Linked DNA regions of Homo sapiens: all the other regions are linked to region 1. The links are contacts of gene promoters, found by promoter capture Hi-C in blood cells and fetal thymus (Javierre and others, 2016). All regions are on one chromosome and are shown on one strand. The core of a region is centred on a gene start or on the middle of the fragment in contact, and the rest is flanking DNA. Distances in the headings are between cores, read along the strand shown. Region 1 holds the start of ZNF878 (zinc finger protein 878). Region 2 has its middle 2.9 kb from the start of ZNF440. Region 3 holds the start of ZNF44 (zinc finger protein 44).

Region 1 (4,025 bases), core at 837-3,336:
ACGAGGTCAGGAGATCGAGACCATCCTGGCTAACACGGTGAAACCCCGTCTCTACTAAAAAATACAAAAAAATTAGCCGGGCGCGGTGGCGGGCGCCTGTAGTCCCAGCTACTTGGGAGGCTGAGGCAGGACAATGGCGTGAACCCGGGAGGCGGAGCTTGCAGTGAGCAGAGATCGCGCCACTGCACTCCAGCCTGGGTGACAGAGTGAGACTCCGTCTCAAAAAAAAAAAAAAAAAAAAAAAGAAAAGAAAAGAAATTAAAACCCCTTGCAAAGAAAATTTTAAAGTCCTGGGCCGGGCGCGGTGGCTCACGCCTGTAATCTGATACAGGAGAATCGCTTGAACCGGGGAGGCGGAGGTTGCAGTGAGCCGAGATTGCGCCATTGCACTCCAGTCTCGGCAACAAGAGCGAAACTCCGTCTCAAACAAACAAACAAAAAAACCTGTAACTAAATTGTATAATTAATTTAGTTGTACTAATTAGTTGTATTAAATTAATTGTACAATTAATTTAGTTGTACTAATTGTTGCGATAATTAAATTTCTTTGTTTTTTGCCTATATAAGAAGGAGCTTAACTTTTTTTTTTTGAGACAGTCTCATTCTTTCACCATGGCTGGAGTGCAGTGGGGCATTCCACTGTAATCCCAGCACTTTGGGAGGCCGAGGAGGGTGGATCACGAGGTCAGGAGTTCGAGACCAGCCTGGCCAATATCATGAAACCCCGTCTCTACTAAAAATACAAAAATTGGCCGGGCGCAGTGGCTCACGCCTGTAATCCCAGTACCTTGGGAGGCCGAAGTGGGCGGATCACAAAGTCAGGAGGAGTTCAAGACCAGCCTGGCCAATATGGTGAAACCCGTTTCTACTAAAAATACAAAAATTAGCCGGGCGTGGTGGCTGGCGCCTGTAGTCCCAGCTACTCGGGAGGCTGAGGCAAGAGAATCGCTTGAACCCGGGAGGCGGAGGTTGCAGTGAGCCGAGATGGCGCCACAGCACTTCAGCCTGGGGCGACGGAGCGAGACTCCGTCTCAAAAATATAAAAATCTGGTAAAATAAAAACAGGTCTTTTGGGGAAGGGGGCGGGGACTGGGATGGAATAACGTGGCAGATAACAGCCCTCCTTCCTACAGCCTCCAAATTTTAGACAAAGCTTTACACACTCTCAACCAACTGCCACCTACAGAATCCCTCCACCACCTGTGCCTTCTAACCCCGCTTCCATGTGTCCCGCCTTTCGGCCAAAGGAACTTACACCTTCCCGGCACTGATTCATCATTTTCCTGCAATTCCTGTCTCCCTGAAATGAATAAAACCAAACTGTCAGGAGCTGCCTCGGGATTGCTTACTCCAGACTTCGCGGGGTTGTGTTTCCCTCAGCCGAGGTCTCTCCTATTCGGCTCAGAATAAACTTATTCTACACGATTTGGGTTTTTCCGTTACCAAACCACAAGCCAGGACTGGGAGTTTCTCATTCATTAATCGCTGTTTGCTAAAATAAACTCTCATTTTTTAACAGTGCCTCAGTTTAATTTTTAACTGGAAAAAAAAAGGAACTGGGGACCCCACAGCCCACAGCTCCTCCCACACGAACCCCACACCCGAGGCAGGATCCCCCATGACCCTTCCATGGTCACCGCACAATCTGGGGAGACGCGGGGCTGCGGGCGCGGAGCTGCTCAGAGAGGGAGCCGGGGCCGGGGCCGCAGTCGCCGCGCAGGGACCGGACAGGACGCCCGGGGTCCCGGCTGCCGGCCCAGCTCCACCCAGCGGCCGAGGGGACCGAGGGCCGAGCTGCGCTAGGGGGACTGTGTCTGGAGCCCAGAGTCGCTGCAGGGGGGCCCGGGCCCCGCCACAGCGGGTTCCTCTCGGTTCCACCCAGTCCCTCCTTTCGCCTTGGGACTCCCCAGCACCGCATGCTCACCATTTCCTGGCTTCCAGGTATTCTGGCGTCCTCTCTAAAGGTCCCGTGAACAGTGCAGGTCACAGCGCAGTCGACAGAGCAACAGCAGCTACGGCGGAAGTAACTGGTCCCTCTCGGAGCAAGAAAGCCCCAGACCTTAACTAGCGCGAGCAGCCCTAGGAGTGAAGAGAGCGGGAATGCAACCTCCCCTTCCCTGGAGGACAGTGGCAGGGCCCCGCCCTAGCGCCCCTGATTGGATAGGGGTCTAGACTCCGCCCCCTTCCCTGAGTGACAGCAGAAGCCCCGGGTAACTGGGCGCTGCAGAGCCGAAGCGACTGGTTCTGGCCACACTTTCCAAGGTCAGCTCCCTCCCTCCCTCCCACCTTTACTTCGAATATTTGCCTTCGGCCAAACTTGCTCCGAACTGCTAGAAGGGACACTGTTGTCTTCCTCACTCCGTGGGCCGTCCCTGCCCCTTCATCCTACACGGGACACAAGTGTGCAGGGAATTCCAGATTCAGTGTCCACAAAATGTGAAAGACATTAAAATATTTTGCCCCAAGATATTGCCCTGCCAAAATATATTTCTTTGACAGTTTTGAAATGGCTGCTGCTTGGCCAGCAAACAAAAGGTGGCCTTGCAAAACTGTCTTTTGAGGGGGAAATTTACATTTGTAGAGAATCTCCGTTAATGAAGCACTGCCAGCTCCCCCGTTCTTTTCCTTTCCCTGATCTAAAAGCTATTGAGAGTTTGACACCTTTAAAATCTGAAGAGAGGTAGCACATGGTGACTCATGTCTATAATCCCACCACATTGGCAAACTGAGGCGGAAGGATCCCTTGAAGCAAGGAGTTTGAGGCCAACATCATCAACACAGCGAGATCCCTGTCTTTCTTTCTTTTTTTTTTTTTTTTTTAGACAGTCTCGATCTGTCGCCCAGGCTGGAGCACAGTGGCACGAGATCTTGGCTCACTGCAACCTCCGCCTCCCAGGTTCAAGCGATTCTCCTGCCCCAGCCTCCCAAATAGCTGGGATTACAGACATGCGCCACCACGCCCCGCTAATTTTGTATTTTTAGTAGAGACGGGGTTTCTCCATGTTGGTCAGGCTGGTCTCGAACTCACGACCTCAGGTGATCCGCCCGCCTCGGCCTCCTAAAGTGCTGGGATTACAGGCGTGAGCCACCTCGCCCGCCGATCCCTGTCTTTATTATTTAAAATTTTTTTAAATGGCCGGGCGCTGGCCGGGCGCAGTGGCTCACGCCTGTAATCCCAGCACTTTGGGAGACCGAGGTGGGCGGATCACGAGGTCAGGAGATCGAGACCATCCTGGCTAATACGGTGAAACCCCGTCTCTACTAAAAATACAAAAAAAAAATTAGCCGGGCGTGGTGGTGGGCGCCTGTAGTCCCAGCTACTCGGGAGGCTGAGGCAGGAGAATGGCGAGAACACGGGAGGTGGAGCTTGTAGTGAGCAGAGATCGCACCACTGTACTCCAGCCTGGGCCACAGAGCAAGACTGTGTCTCAAAAAAACAAAACAAAACAAAACAAAAAACCAGTGGCCGGGCGCAGTGAGACCAGGTCTCTACCAAAAAGATAAGTAAATAGATTAGGGCCAGGCATGGTGGCTCATGCCTGTAATCCCAGCACTTTGGGAGGCCGAGGTGGGTGGATCACTTGAGGTCAGGAGTTTGAGACCAGCCTGGCCAACTTGACGAAATCCCATCTCTACCAAAAATATAAAAATGAGCTGGGTTTGGTGGCACACACCTGTGATCCCAGCTATTCGGGGGGCTGAAGCAGGACAATTGCTTGAACCCAGAAGACGGAGGTTGTAGTGAGCAGAGATTGCACCATTACACTCGAGCCTAGGTGACAGAGTGAGACCTTGTCTCATAAAAAGGAAAAAAGTCTATTCTCTGGGGGAGACATCATCTACGTAACAGTCCACCTCTAGCCAAGCCTCTTCCTTTCTCAGTCTACTAAGCTGTCTTGCTACTAAACCTAATTTACTGACCTCAGGTCGCTATATAATCTTCTCTGTCTTATAGCTGGGTGTGTCTTCATTCTGAAGGTTCCCATGTATACATGTTAAATACATTTGCATGCCTTCTTTTCTAT
Region 2 (4,025 bases), core at 497-2,996, 240 kb before region 1:
CTTCTATCCCATCTAGGGACGTGGTTACAGAATGCCCTCGTTTTTGTCCTGCTCCATCATGGTCACTGAGGAGCACTGCTTCACACTGCAGGTGTCTGACATGGCTTAAGATTTGGCCTTGTGGTGAGGGGAGGCAGCTCCCAGACTTGTGGACCTGTTTTTGCTTTACTTATTCTCCAAAACCTAAGATATTTCTTAGAGTGTATGAACACTGTTCCACAAAATGCTCCAGTTAAAAATATATAAAATCACTTACTCCTTAGGAAGCTGTATAATACTTTTAAAGAAATTCCTTACTGAGTCAAGTGTGGTCAATATATTTATGTAACTGTCTGAATGCACGCCTAGGAAGGATGAAAGTCAGTATCACTATTCCAACCAAGCCTTTCTTGCTCAGATAATATGCTCTTGATGCACCCCTCTTTTTTCTTTTTGACACAGGGTCTCATTCTATCACCCAGGCTATGTGGAGTGCAGTGGCGTGATCTCGGCTCACTGCAATCTCCACCTCCTGGGCTCAAGCGATCCTCCCACCTTAGCCTCCCAAGTAGCTGGGACCATGCCCAGCTAATTTTTGTATTTTTTTTTTTAGAGACAAGGTTTCACCATGTTGCCCAGGCTGATCTCGAACAGGAGTTCAGCAACCCTTTTATGCCACACTGTAGAGTAATAGGCAACATGGAAAAGTTAGTTTTATATATTATGCAGTGGCATGGACCAATCCAATCACTTTTTTGAAGTGCCAGCCAAACTCTTCTTCAGAGAAGCCTGTTTGAAACCCCCTAGAGTCAAAACCTGGTACCACAGGACAGAGCAGCAATGAGTGACCAACCCCTGACTCTATGTGCAGATGACACATCCATCCCCAGATTAGGTATCAACATAAGTGAAAGGTACTGTCATTGCCTGTCATTTTTTTTTTTTTTGAGATGGAGTCTCACTTTGTCACCCAGGCTGGAGTGCAGTGGCACGATCTTGGCTCACTGCAACCTCTGCCTCCTGGGTTCAAGCTATTGTCCTGCCTCAGCCTCCCAAGTAGCTGGGATTACAGGTGCCCGCCACCACACCCGGCTAATTTTTGTATTTTTAGTAGAGACGGCGTTTCACCATGTTGGCCAGGCTAGTCTTGAACTCCTGACCTTGTGATCCACCTGCCTCGGCCTCCCAAAGTGCTGGGATTACAGGCGTGAGCTACTGCACCCAGCCCATTGCCTATCAGTTTTTATAGAGTGTCGCTTAGATCAAGAAAGAGATGGTAATACAGAGTTAGGTGTGTCTGAAACCAAACACGACCTCATCCTTCTCCCTTGAAGGCCAAATGCACTCTGAGAGTTTGGTTAGAGTACAAACAACGCCACCAACTTCACTCCAGATGTGATTTTCTACAGGAGGCGGGCACTGTGTTGGGATGGCCAGTGAAGGTAAGGAACACTAGAGGTGCAGGTTTAGGTGATGAACAGGACACAGCCTGGACATTATTAGCCTTGACTATGGAGGTGTCTTGATGTTTCTCAAATTGAGACCAGTCTGGCCAACAGGATACTGAACTGGTTTTCGATGGAAAAATTCATCTGTATAGGGATCTATTCGCTTCCTTTAAGTTTCAGTTTCGTTATGTGGCATTTAGCATGAGTGACTCCATTTTGGTCTGATCTGGTTTCTAAGTGCCTAGTGCAGAAGCTCAGTCCAAAACAATGGCCTCCCATAATGTTCATTTTAACATTTTCTTTATACTAATACATTATATCAGGTCACCTCAAATGTCACCTCCACAGAGGGTTCTTCCTCTCACCTCAGTTAGTCCTACTTCTTTCCATTCAGTTTTTTGTTACACTGCACTTTTTAGGATCTGGGAAATCTAATCAAAGTTCACAGGGTTTATTGCTTATTCTTTTTCTTTTTCTTTTTCTTTTTTTGAGACAGAGTCTCTCTTTGTCGCTGCCCAGGCTGGAGTGCAATGGTGTGATCTCGGCTCATTGCAACCTCCACCTTCCAGGTTCAAGCGATTCTCCTGCTTCAGCCTCCTTAGTAGCTGGGATTACAGGCATGCACCACCACACTCAGCTAATTTTTGTATTTTTAGTAGAGATGGGGTTTCACCATGTTGGCTAGGCTGGTCTCGAACTCCCAACCTCAGGTGATCCACTCACCTCAGCCTCCCAAAGTGCTGGGATTACAGGCATGACCACTATGCCCAGCCAGGTTCATTACTTTTTAAAAATCAATCTATGAAAAATTAAATTGGCCAGGCATGGTGCCTCAGAACCTGTAATCCCAGCACTTTAGGAAGCTAAAGTGGGAGGGTCACTTGAGGCCAGGAGTTGGAGAGCAGTCTGGGCAACACAGTGAAACCCCATCTGTACAAAAAATACAAAAATTCGCTGGGCTTGGTGGCGCACACCTGTGGTCCCAGGCTCTACTTGGGAGGCTGAGGTGGGAGAATTGCTTGAGTCCGGAAGATCAAGGCTGCAGTGAGCTCTGTTTGCACCACTGTACTCCAGCCTGGGTGACAGAGGGAGACCTTGTAAAAAAAAAAAAAGAAAGAAAGAAAGAAAGAAAGAAAGAAAGAGAGAGAGAGAGAGGGAGAGAGAGAAAGAAAGAAAGAAAGAAAGAAAGAAAGAAAGAAAGAAAGAAAGAAAGAAAGAAAGAAAGAAAGAAAGAAGAAAAGAAAAGAAAAATCATGTAAATGAAACCAAATTCAGTGATGTTACCTTAACTTTTTTTCTTTTTTCGGGTAGAGACAGGGTCCCACTATGTTGCCCAGGCTGGTCTCAAACTCCTGGCCTCAAGCGATCCTCCTACCTTGGCCTTCCAAAATGCTGGTATTACTGGTGTGAGCCACCACACCTGTCCTACCTTTATTTCTAATAACTGATATGCCTTACATTAAAAAGTCTTTTAGAAAACACCTTTGAGCCATTTTCCAGATAGGGGAAGTCAATGAAGCTCCCTCTTGTGGTGAGGGCGACTTTAACATCCACACATCCTGTCTGGGGGACTGGATTTCTGAGTTGTGCTGAGACTTAAGAGTGGAAAAAAAGTCTACTCTTTTTCCTCTGCTCTCACACAACACGGAATACTTCTGTGACCAAATGCAAATATTTGAGAAGTGTCCCCCACATGCCAAGCAAAGCATCAATTCTGCAACTGACTCCAGCTCGATGTCTTCTAGTTCCAACACTTTCTACCTTTACATAAGGTACAAAACTGCCTCAGAAATCATCTGACCATGTGTCCCGGTTTGCCAGTGATAATCCTTGATAGTACCTGTTGTCCCAACATAGTTTTTCATAGCACCTCATCTTGCCATGGTTATCTGTGTCTGAACAATGAATATGTATGAATACTTTCACACATAAGCAAAATTAGGTTTATTAAATGAAGTTTCCAGGAATGTTCAAATTTCAACACCTGATTTACCTTATCACAAGTTATGGCTGTGCTAATTTCTCCAGGAAATATTCACAGAATATTGAATTTATCATTGTAAGGTGTGGAGCAATGAAGATGCCCAAGAGGCCAGGCGCACACCTGTAATCCCAACACTTTGGGAGGCTGAGGCTGGAGGATCACTTAAGCTCAGGAGTTTGAGATCAACCTGAACAACCGAATGAGACCTCATCTCTACCAAAAATAAAAAACTAGCCAGGCATGGTGGCAGGCACTTGTAGTCCCACCTACTTAGGAGGCTGAGGTGGGAGGATTGCTTGAGTCTGGGAGGTTGAGGCTGCATTGAGTAGCCATCGCACCACTGCACTCCAGCTTGGGCGACAGAGTGAGACCCCGTCTCAAAAAAAGATGGCTAAAACATAATTTTTTTTTTTTTGAGATGGAGTCTCACTGTGTCTCAGGCTGGAATGCAGTGGCACGATCTTGGCTCACTGCAAACTCTGCCTCCCGGTTCAAGCAATTCTCCTGCCTCAGCCTTTCAAGTAGCTGGGATTACAGGCATGCGCCACCATTCCTGGCTAATTTTTGTATTTTTAGTAGAGATAGGATTTCACCATGTTGGCCAGGCTGGTCTT
Region 3 (4,025 bases), core at 815-3,314, 240 kb after region 1:
GCTTGGGGAAAAAAATGTCAATGTCCCAGAGGTTAGGTTTTTTTTTTTTTTTTTTTTTTTTTGAGACAGAGTTTCCCTCTTGTCGCCCAGGCTGGAGTGCAATGGCATGATTGTGATTTCGGCTCACTGCAACCTCCACCTCCCAGGTTCAAGTGATTCTCCTGCCTCAGCCTCCCATGTAGCTGGGATTACAGGCACCTGCCACCATGCCCGGCTAATTTTTGTATTTTCAGTAGAGATGGGGTTTCACCATGTTGGCCAGGGTGGTCTTGAACCCCTGACCTCAGGTGATCCGCCCGCCTCGGCTTCCCAAAGTGCTGGGATTACAGGCGTGAGCCACCGCGCCCAGCCCAGGGGTTAGCTTTTTACAGGAATGATATACCAGAAGATTCCTCCCACCCCAGTGCATCCACCTGATCCTTTGGGAGGCCCCACTCCAACACCTCAGGCTGTCCTCTGGGAAGAGTGACCCAAGGGCCGATATCCACTAGGCCCTCCATGAGATTGGCAGCTTCCAGCATCTTAGGGTAGCCCCAGAAAGTTCCATAACACAGGGCCTGGAAAAGATACAGGGTGGGCTGAGGTCACATCACCCTGTAAAGGACATACTGAGAAGGCATCTGTGCCTAGGGGAGATAAAAGAGGCACAAAGGTTTGGTTTTTTTTACAGCAGTGTCAGGTGGTTATTCTCTTCTTCCTCACATGTGAAATGTTAAGGAAAACAAAATAAATCTGTTTAAAAAGAGCCATACATTGCTATCTGAAAACAAACGACAAAATTCTGTGTCTATTTGAAATATCGTCTTGCTGACAAAGGGTTCATAACGTTACTGGGAATTGAGGAGTGAAGTTAGCATATGGAAGGCTCTGGAAACCAAAAGATTTACTGTTAGCCCCAAGAGGAGTTAGGATGAAGGGACAGGTCTCAAAGACCCTGATGCCAATATCTTTGAAAGCCTCGGAGGAGAAATGGTCGCCCTTGGAAAGAAAGGACTGAAGAGCACAGAGACCACAGCTCCTCCCACACACAAACCCCACACACGAGTCTGGTTTGTGCCTAGTGACCCTCCCACCGTCACCGTGCAGCCTCCTCACCGGGCTCACAGGAACTGCGAGCCAGGCTGGAGGCGAGATTGCAGTTAGATATTAACCAGGTGCCCTCAGCCCCGCTGCTTCACAGGAAGCCGCCTCCCTGAGAGTCAGGTCACAGCAGACGCTGACCGCCGGCTTCCCCATTGGCCTGGGGATAAGATCTCTGAGAGTTGCTCAAGAGTCGTCTAAGTTCTTTCTCAGATCTTGAATTCCAGCGGAAAGGCTGGCGCCAAGCAGGCTGAAGACCCCACAAGGAAGCCCACTCAGCAGCAGAATGCGGTTTCTTCACCTCCAGTCCCAAGATTCACCCCTCACTTCTCCACCAACCAGCGACCCCACATCCCAACCACCCCCGTCCAGACCCCTAAACACCCCATCCTCAAACCTCTCACGGAGGCGGATCTAGGGTGTCCTCTCCTATTAAACCGTTTCTGCTGCAGCCCTCGGCGTCCGGGTGCAGTGACTTGGGCTGCGAACCTGTACTGGTTCCGCCGCACAATCTGGGGAGAAGCGGGGCTGAGGGCGCGGAGCTGCCCAGAGAGGGGCGCCGGGGCCGGGGCCGCAGTCGCAGCTCAGGGACGGGACAGGACGCCCGGGGTCCCGGCTGCCGGCCCAGCCCCACCCTGCGGCCAAACGGACCGAGGACCGAGGTGCGCAGGGGGCGCTCAGGTCCCAGACCCCAAAGACGCTGCGGCGAGGCCCGGGTCCCGCCACAGCCGGTTCCGACTGGTTCCGACCAGCCCTTCGCCCTGCCTCAGGACGCCGGGCCCCGCACACTCACCATTTCCCGGCTGTGCGGTGTCCCGGGTCCTCCCAACTCCCGTAGTCAGGGTAGGTCCCAGCGCGACAAAAGCCACCACAGATGTCCCAGGGCGTCTCTCAGTGACAGAATACGGAACAGAGGTCACCAGGGTGAAGAGGCCACTAGCTCCTGGAACGTCACACCCTCCTCTCTGCCTCGCGCCTGATTGACAATTCTCAGGAACCCGCCCACGACTTTGATTGGGTAGCCCTCCAGGTCCCGCCTCCTGGGCACTGAGTGACAGAAGAAGCGATCTCACAGTGCTGAGTGCAGCCGGATGAACAGGTTCCAGACCCGGCCCCTGGCAGGGCGGGCTTCCTCCCTGCGTTGTGACCCGACCCGTCCCGGGAAACGTTTGCCTTAAAGCGGAATTTCCTACCTGTACGCAGTGGGCCCTTTTTGCTTCTTCCTCCTGAACAATTGTGTGCAAGGAATCCCAGACTCACTGTCCAGTGGAGCCATCCCTTGGCCTCAGAGCAGGAGGGCAGCCGAGGCCACACAGGCCACACTGTAGCAGCGGGGGACAGGGGGTGGGTGGGTGGGGGGGTGGTGCTGATGTCCTCCAGGGACCAGGAATTTGGGATGAGGCTGTCGCCTGCAAGGTCAAGCCTTTCTTCCACTATAAGCGCTGGATGGGTTCTTTCTGCGCGCTACGCAAATAAAGACCACGGTATTGCAGTTAAAAAAAAAGTTTAATAAACACTAGGCCAGCTACGATACGTGAGAGACGGAGTTACTACTCAAATTATTCTCATCCAAGGTCCTCTGGTAGGGGTTTTTCAAGGGCAGTTTGGGAGAAAGGGTGGAGGTAGCTAGGCTTGCTACTGACTGGTTGGGGTGGGGATGAAATCACTGGGGATGGAATCTGTCCTCTTGGCAGTGCGTGGTGGCTCACCGCTGTAATCCCAATACTTTGGGAGGCCTAGGTGGGAGGATCGCTTGAGGCCAGTAGTTCAAGACCAGCCTGGACATAGAGTGAAACTCCGTCTCTATACTATAAGGGAGGAGACCACCCCTCATATTGTCTTATGCCCAATTTCTGCCTCCAAAGAAGAAGTAAAAACTAAAAGGCAGAAATGAAATCCACAGGCAGATAACCCGGCTTGTGCCCTGGGCTGGGTAGTTAAAAATCAACCTCTGACCTAACTGTGTTATCTATGATTCCAGACATTGTATGGAAAAGCACTGTGAAAATCCCTGTCCTGTTCTGTTCAGTTCTGGTTACCGGTGCATGCAGCCCCCAGTCACGTACCCACTGTTTGCTCCATCAATCACGACCCTCTCACGCGGACTCCTAGTTGTAAGCCCTTAAAAGGGACAAGAATTGCTCACTCGGGGAGCTCGGTTTTTGGAGACGTGAGTCCGCCGATGCTCCCAGCCCAGCTGAATAAAGCCCTTTCCTTCCACAACTCGGTGTCTGAGGGGTTCTTGTCTGCGGCTTGTACTGCTACATATTTAAAAAAGAAAAAAAGAGGCCGGGCCCGGTGGCTCACACCTGTAATCCCAGAACTTTGGGAGGCCCAGGCGGGCGGATCACCTGAGGTCGGGAGTTTGAGACCAGCCTGACCAACATGGAGAAAGCTCGTCTCTACTAAAAATACAAAATTAGCTGGGCGTGGTGGCACATGTCTGTAATCCCAGCTACCTGGGAGGCTAAGGCGGGAGAATCACTTGAACCCGGGAGGTGGAGGTTGCGGTGAGCTGAGATCGCGCCAAGCCGAGATCGTGCCTTTGCACTCCAGCCTGGGCAACAAGAGCGAAACTCCGTCTCAAAAAAAAACAAAAAAAAGACAAAAAAAAAAAAAACCTATCCTGTTATGCTGAATCACTTCTGGTTGGGGCCACAGGAGCAGAGTTGGCAGGTGCAGGTGGTGTCAGACATGCAAAAAAAAAACAAACAAACAAACAAAAACTGAAAATACGTCTACAAATGCTAATCTACAATAGTGGTGTTATCTGCAGAAATAGCTGGCAATCTATGTCTACACTTTAGCAGCATTCCGATTCCTTTCATCCCTCAGCCTGATGGCCATTCATTCGTTTTACAAAGGCAGTTGAGTTTTGGGGAAGGCTTATTATCATTTAAGCTATCTTCCAAAGTTAGCTGTGCCTAAGAGCCCAGGATTAAGGG

The links. Contacts are between HindIII fragments. The CHiCAGO score rates a contact against its expected background, and 5 or more counts as called.
Region 2: a contact is called between a fragment that was not itself captured here and the fragment with the promoter of ZNF878 in region 1, in 1 of 17 cell types (fetal thymus). The highest score is 5.7, in fetal thymus.
Region 3: the fragment with the promoter of ZNF44 here is called in contact with the fragment with the promoter of ZNF878 in region 1 in 1 of 17 cell types (neutrophils); the score reaches 5.2 in neutrophils.

Annotation. Positions count from the first base shown.
Region 1 is chr19:12,050,875-12,054,899 of GRCh38, forward strand. ZNF878 (zinc finger protein 878) reads right to left here and starts at 2,087. Exons shown (of 4, transcript NM_001080404.3): 1 at 1,925-2,087. The coding sequence starts at 1,927. RefSeq lists a silencer at 1,683-1,732 and an enhancer at 1,921-2,426. The HindIII fragment of the contact is 8,690 bases long and covers 1,152-4,025 here.
Region 2 is chr19:11,809,361-11,813,385 of GRCh38, forward strand. No RefSeq gene overlaps it. Among named protein-coding and RNA genes, the nearest start is that of ZNF440, 2.9 kb to the right of the region's middle. RefSeq lists a silencer at 2,904-3,013. The HindIII fragment of the contact is 8,771 bases long and covers 1-4,025 here.
Region 3 is chr19:12,292,819-12,296,843 of GRCh38, forward strand. It overlaps ZNF44 (zinc finger protein 44), which reads right to left and starts at 2,065. Exons shown (of 4, transcript NM_016264.4): 1 at 1,874-2,065. The coding sequence starts at 1,876. RefSeq lists a silencer at 1,620-1,849 and an enhancer at 2,400-2,449. The HindIII fragment of the contact is 16,141 bases long and covers 1-4,025 here.